2 separate regions of the Homo sapiens genome follow, and region 2 is linked to region 1. The links are contacts of gene promoters, found by promoter capture Hi-C in blood cells and fetal thymus (Javierre and others, 2016). All regions are on one chromosome and are shown on one strand. Each heading gives the region's core, a stretch centred on a gene start or on the middle of the fragment in contact. The rest is flanking DNA. Distances are from core to core; before and after follow the strand shown. Region 1 holds the start of HIGD1A (HIG1 hypoxia inducible domain family member 1A). Region 2 overlaps ABHD5 (abhydrolase domain containing 5, lysophosphatidic acid acyltransferase).

Evidence for each region. The method cuts DNA at HindIII sites, captures the fragments that hold promoters and counts their contacts. A CHiCAGO score of 5 or more calls a contact.
Region 2: a contact is called between a fragment that was not itself captured here and the fragment with the promoter of HIGD1A in region 1, in 1 of 17 cell types (neutrophils). The highest score is 6.2, in neutrophils.

What each region holds. Positions count from the first base shown.
Region 1 is chr3:42,802,567-42,805,981 of GRCh38, forward strand. It overlaps HIGD1A (HIG1 hypoxia inducible domain family member 1A), which reads right to left and starts at 1,924. Exons shown (of 4, transcript NM_014056.4): 1 at 1,870-1,924. RefSeq lists a silencer at 1,880-2,099 and an enhancer at 2,961-3,415. The HindIII fragment of the contact is 3,515 bases long and covers 1,612-3,415 here.
Region 2 is chr3:43,703,688-43,707,102 of GRCh38, forward strand. All of the region lies in intron 3 of ABHD5 (abhydrolase domain containing 5, lysophosphatidic acid acyltransferase), which reads left to right. Among named protein-coding and RNA genes, the nearest start is that of ABHD5, 14 kb to the left of the region's middle. The HindIII fragment of the contact is 1,199 bases long and covers 1,273-2,471 here.

The sequences.
Region 1 (3,415 bases), core at 674-3,173:
CCACGTAGAAGTTTCCAAAGTATTCATGGTTTATAGCCACCTGAATTGAAAACTGGTTAAGTATCAGGAACAATAAGTTCTAATCATATAATTTGAGAGTAACAAATCAGATGAATAATCCAAGCCAATAGCCTTATTTTACAGGTGGGGAAAGGGTTGTGAGAGGGTTATACGAATTGCTCAGTACAAGGAATACATGTCTGGTGGGGTAGGATTAGAATCCAGCTCTTCTGATAGAGAGTCCTGGGTTCTTTTGATTGACGATATATTGCCAAAGCATCAATCTTACGCTGCTGATGTAAATTAGATTAAATTGGCAGATAAGAATTCTGATTAGAAAATTTAAGAATCCATTACTCAACAGAAGCCCACGTTGTTCTCTTTGAATGATATATATAAAAAAATCATGCCTAAGGTAAACGGAATCTTCTTCAGTGACTTAACTCATCTAACAATTTCAATTGTGATTTGAAAAGACTTTTTTCACTACACCACTGCCAGACTTTCCTTCATTATCGTTTTCTCATCCACCCACAGTAGTTGTCCCAGATTTCTGTCAGAAAGTTGAATAGACGCTAAAAAAGGCACCAGTAACCAGATATTTAAAGTCAGTTTGGAGAGCACAAATTAATTCTGTACGCTTAGTAAGACACGACTGAAGACCTTTCCACAGGGAACCTAAAGAGGCATTAAGGGAAGATGAGCCGTCCAGCATCAGGAGACGTAACAGGTTGAATGAAGGATCTTTCTTCACAGTCATTTTGTCACGGGAATTACTATCTAAAGCAACGCTGGCTTCAAACTGATTTTGCATCAGTCGCCCATCAGCTTGTTTAAAATGGCTGCCAAGGCCCCAGCATGGAGATCCGGATTCAGGTGGTCTGGGGCAGAGCTCAAGGAATCTTTAAGAAGCCCCTTCAAGTGACTCTGGTGCACAAAGAGAACTCCTAGTATACAGGACTCCAAATATGTGTGTCATGCTGGAGCTTCATGACCAGGTTGTCACCGCTTCAACCTGTTAGAACTTTCCATCCAAACCTGTCTTACTCCAAAGTGCCTTTGTACTTCCGGAAGCAGGGATCCCTGTCGTGGGGATTACTCCGAAGAGGGAAATAGCTGCTTCCCACTCCGGGAATTTAAGACAAAGGCGAATATCACTGCTGCATCATGTCGGCTGCTCCTAATTCTGCCCTTACGCTGTGCTTTGTAATCTCTAACCCGCCGACTCGGCAGGAGAAAAATTTAATTCGGTCACAGAAGCACTACACAGGACCCTAGGCCTTATCACTTTCCCAGGGTGGAGGAAACACCAGGTCGGGGAGAAAAGCAAGACCAGGACTGGAAGGTCCTCTGCTAGTACGCCCTCCCCTCAACCTCCCGACCTTCCTCGCCGCCTCTCTTCCTGTGACCTTGTCGTGACTCCGTGACCGGAGCGCTCGCTCTCCTATCCCGCCTCGCCTGCCGCTTAGCCCGCTCTTCAGAATGTTCCAAGCTCCGGGGAAGCTCCCGCTCCTCGCTCCCCGCCGTCGGGCCCAGTCAACACCCTCCTGGCCCCCGTCTCTCATTACCACCCCATCAGCGAGTCTTCCCCGCTCGGCAACTCACTCCACAAGCTTCTGCTCCATCTCCTCGCTGGCTCCGTCTCCCCTCACCCGAAGGACCCTAGGCCTCGGCTCCCGACTCCTCTCATCCGCCCATGCTCGAGGCCGGGCCTGAGCCCCGGCAACTCCACCTCTCCTCCCTCATTCGAGACACGGACTCCCAGCCCCCACCCCCAAAGTCCTTTCGGCCTGGCCAAGCGCTGCCCCACTTCTTCCCGCCCCGCGGCCCGAGTCCCTGGCTCGCAGTCCCCCGGCTTGTTTCGCTTACCTAGAGCGAGAAAACCTCTCACACCCCAACCGGCTTCCGATCCCTGCAGGCGCACCCAGTCCTCCCGGCTTCTCCCCACCCACAGCCGTCCCAGCCAATCAGAGGCCAGCGGCCGCAAAAGGACGCGTGCGTGTGCGCGGCGGGTGGGGCAGTGCAGAGCGGGTCCTGGATTGGCTGGGCCGGTGAGTGCTGGCCCACTACCCCGGCTCTAGCGTACTGGCGGAGACAGACGTGAGAGCTCGGCGCCTGGGGTTCGCGCCCGGGCACTTGAGGGGCTTTGGCTCCTGGCCCAAGGACTCCTCAGATTTCTCCTGCCCTTTTCCCCTCGGGCAGCGGAGGCGAGCACCGCGAACGCCGTGTCCCGAGCGCCGCCGCCTGCGGACGCCTCACGGGCCGGGAAGGGATGCGGGTGAGGGGTTTCGGCTGCGGGTGAGGTTGTGTTCCCCGACCCACCCGGGTCCGACTGCTTGTTCTCGCCGTTCAGTAACGAGATGCAGACAGACTGGGAAAGAACGGAGTTTATTTCTGCAACAGGTTACAGGGAGAAGGTCGGAGTAACTCACCAGACCAACTCAAAATTATTAATACAAGTTTTTCTAGTGCTTAAATACATTCAGTGCATTTACAAGTCGAAAGCCAAAGTGTTTCACTCAAGCCAATCTTTAACGGTAATAGGGTCAGGTGTCTAGACAATTGCTTCAGAGCCTTGGAAATAATCTAAAGTGGGTCCTGGTACAAGGTGTGCAAGAACAACTCCATTATTTTAATTAAACTCTAGGGGTTGAAAAAGCTCAGGCGGGATCCTAATGGACTTGTCTTTACATTCTAGCCTTTCTCCTAAGGCACCAGTTTCTCCAATGTTTAACTTATACATGCATCAGAATGACAGTGAGGCGTTGGTGAGAGCTGCTCTGGTTGCTAATGGAGATCTGGCCTGCCACAGTGGGAGCAGAGCTTGCCCAGTGCGCCGGGACGACTGCGGGCTCCATCCATTCCGCTCCCAGGGCGGTTGTCGGCCAGGACCGTGAGCTGTCAGGTCCCCCGCGGGATCCTTCCTGGAGCTTACACTATAGTAGGAGGCAGCCAGTACTTGCAAGCACGGGGTCGCGGGAACTACGACCTCACCCAGGCCAGGCGACCTTTCTCTCAAGAAGGAGATGTCAGAGGCCCCTCGTGACAGCGAGCTTCCGGGGACAGGGCTCCTAATGTGTTTGTCAAGTAAATAATGAGTAATAATCCGGCCAATTGGTGGGTCAACGAAAAAAGTCAAACTCTAAGATATTTGAAGAGATTTATTCTGAACCAAATGTGAGTGACCGTGGCCCCTGACACAGCCCTCAGGAGGTCCTGAGAACATGTGCCCAAGGTGGTCCAGGCACACTTGGTTTTATACATTTTAGAGAGGCATGAGACATCAATCAAATACATTTAAGAAATACATTGGTTTGGTCCAGAAACGGGGGACAACTCAAAGGCGAGAGGGGAGGGGGCTTCCAGGCTATAGGTAAATTTAAACATTTTCTGGTTGATAATTGGTTGAGTTTGT
Region 2 (3,415 bases), core at 622-3,121, 900 kb after region 1:
TTTGACTTTGAGGTCCGTGAGTGAGACATGGGATGATGGTCATTTCAGAGTGCCTGTATGTACCTATAAGATCTCCCCATTGCATAACTCTGGGTGTGTGTTCAACACAGAATTTGATGTGTGAAGCAGCAGCCCTGTGTACCTGAGGTTCTCTTCCTCTGGAACAGCCACTTTTTCTCTATAGACTCTTTATCTAAACTTTAGCATTTACACCTGATTTTTCTGATCTCATGGTCCTATATGTGCTAGACAATAATAGTCCTGTCAACTGGCGGACCTGTTCTTTAAAAAGAAATGCAAATTTTCTTCTCCTGGTTGGCATTTTGGGGTTACTTTCTTTATTTTCTTTTTTTTTTTTTTTTTTTTTTGAGCCGGAGTCTCACTCGGTCGCCCAGGCTGGAGTGCAGTGGCGCGGTATCTCGGCTCACCGCAACCTCCGTCTCCCAGGTTCAAGCAATTCTCCTGCCTCAGCCTCCCGAGTAGTTGGGATTACAGGAGCCCGCCACCACACTGGCTAATTTTTGTATTTTTAGTAGAGACAGGGTTTCACCATGTTGGCCAGGCTGGTCTCAAACTCTTGACCTCAGGAGATCCGCCTGCCTTGGCCTCCCAAAGTGTTGGGATTACAGGCATGAGCCACCGCACCCGCTGGTGTTACTTTCTTTTATTGTGTCCTACTCTTAGTGACAAACACCTATTTGCATTTATGGTGAAAGGAGAAGGAAGTAGATGCTTTTCTGGTACAAGTCAACAGGGCTATTTGTGGGAGTTGAACTTCCTTTGTTTTTTATCAGGTATGTATTATGTCTGTGTCTGTCTTGTGGTATTTATTCTCTGAAGATGTGACATGGAACTCTGCAGGCTAGACCTTGGTCATTAAACCCTAAGTCTTAGAATCCTGACCCTTCATAGCTCTCTACTGATAAGGTCAGTTGGCAAGAGTTTCATTTGCAATTGTGAACTGCTCTAAAGAAATAGGGGGCTTCAGGGATTCAGAAGGGAATCAACACTTTAAAAACATTATAAAAGAGAATAGCAAAAGGTATCTAAAAACAAAGCTAGTGATTCCTGCATTGGACTAATAATATTTTAGAAAATGGTTTTTGAATGTTTGTGTCTAATGCTAGAAATAAAACTAGAGTACTGTCTCAGGACCAAGAATCATAAGTAGTAGCAGTAGATGGATATGAGAATGCTTGAAATAATTAGCCTGTCTAAATTTGGCTGGTTGCCAACAAAATTTTGAACTGTACAGAGTGTATTGAATATTCAAGCTTATATTCTTAACTGCATAAAACTTAAATTATTAAATACAGGTTAATTTCAAAATAATGATGTTTTCTGGATTTTCAGATATCTCAAATCATGATTATGTCCAGTCAGTCAGAACACCATGGTTGGCACATAGTGGCTGCCTAGTAAATATTTCTTGAATAGGTGATTTTGAAAAAGAGAATTATAAGCTAAGTTCACCTTTTAGCTAACAATTTTATGTTCTTTTCTCTGTTCTTCTCTTTGCATTTTGCATAGAAGTATCAAGAGATAAGAGCTGGTCATGTCATATCTTTCTAATTTATTTTTGGGAGAAAAATTAGTTTCAGATATGCAAGCATAAGCAGGCAAAGATTTCAGTTTTATGCCTTTTGCCCAGTTAGTCTACATCTTGAGTTAGTATAGCATAAAAACAAGTTACCGTGGAAATAAAGAGATCATTCTGTGTGTATGTGTGAGAGAAAGGTATTAGTGAGAATGTTTCTTCTAACATTTACACACACACACGTATATACATAACATACATGAATATTTTACAGAATTAAGCAAATTGACCAGCCATTTAAACCAACAACTTTAGTTAGTTTAGAAGTGTGTTAAATCTACTAAATAAAAGTAAAATTTTATAGTTTACTTTTTCCCTGTTCTAATAGACCAGATAATACCCCATTGTAGCATATAATATAGGAAGACTGGAATTAACAATCTCACGGGCTTCCCCTTCTCCCTAGCTTTTTTCCTTCATTGCTTTTCAGGATGGCTTCCCTGGAAGCACTTCTCTTTAAATGGAGAGGACAGGGAAAAATGAGTATCTCTTGTCTTTTCTGCAAGGTGCATCGTCTCCTTTGGTGCCCTTTGGTCTTGCTGTCCACGTTTATTTATATTACTAATAATGTTGCTCATATTTGTTAACTTTTTATTAAAAAGAATTTTTTTCTGCTTGGTCCTGGTTGGGCAAATTTGTACAAATTTACATAGATGATCTGATAGTTAATATAGTTCGATAGACTCACAGATCCAAACATTAAACAGGATTAAACAGGACTGAGTACTGTTAAGTGTTCACCATTATAGCAAACCTCATATTAAGTTATGTTTAGTGTTTGGTGTGTCTTGAAGTTGGCATTCCCACTAAGCAGATGGGGTGGTTGTCAGGGTTGCCTTCTGTGTGATGTGGAATGTTTCACCTAAGCTGGAGAAGCTTCTTTGCAGCACACACACGTTTTCTCTGGTGCAATAGAGCAGTCCGCTTGGTATCAACAAACAGGTACTGAACTACATACTCGTGCTCATCCAGCTTGCTTTTGATCCAGTAGCATTTTTATTATGCTGTCATGATATTCAAATGAATCTTTGAGTTTCAGAAAGACTTTTGGTGGGCGTGGGGGGAGCGGTAAGAGGAGGGAAAAAGTGGTCTGGAGATCAAATGAAATTCAGATCTTTTCTTACACTCACTGTGCCTCTTTTGTCTCTCTCTCTTTTTTCGATAATGGACTTTGAGAATGTTACCTTTTTTTTTTTTCTTAGAGATGGGGTCTTACTCTGTTGCACAGTTTGGAGTGCAGTGGCGCAATCATAGCTCACTGCAGCCTTGACCTCTTACACTCAACAAACCTCCCGTGTAGCTAGTACTACAGGTGTGCCACCATGCCTGGGTAATTTTTAAAGTTTTGTGTAGAGATGGGGGTTTCACTTTGTTGCCCAGGCCAATGTCAAACTCCTGGCCTCGAATGATCCTCCTGCCTCCAAAACTGCCGGGATTACAGGCATGAGACACCGTGCTCAGCTGATAATGTTATTTTATTCTTTGCTTCCTCAGGTGTTGCAAATATAATCTTTATTTTTTTCTTTTAAGTAAAATGACAGCTCCTTACTTTCCGTTTTATGCATGGAGGGAAAAAACACAAAAACAACGTTGTTTTATTTGTTGGGACTTAGTGTTCCAAGCCATAACTACTTCAGTCCTTGTCTTTTATGGGCAGCTCCATTCTTCCATTCGTTACTTTTATAGGACAGTTTGAAGAGAAGAATGAAAAGGCCTAGTTTAATGCACTTGTTTAAGAAGGATTCTTACTCTAAAGAACAAATAAAAGCTGATCAATTTTTGCCAACTTTTGGATTACAGGCGTGAGCCACTGCACCT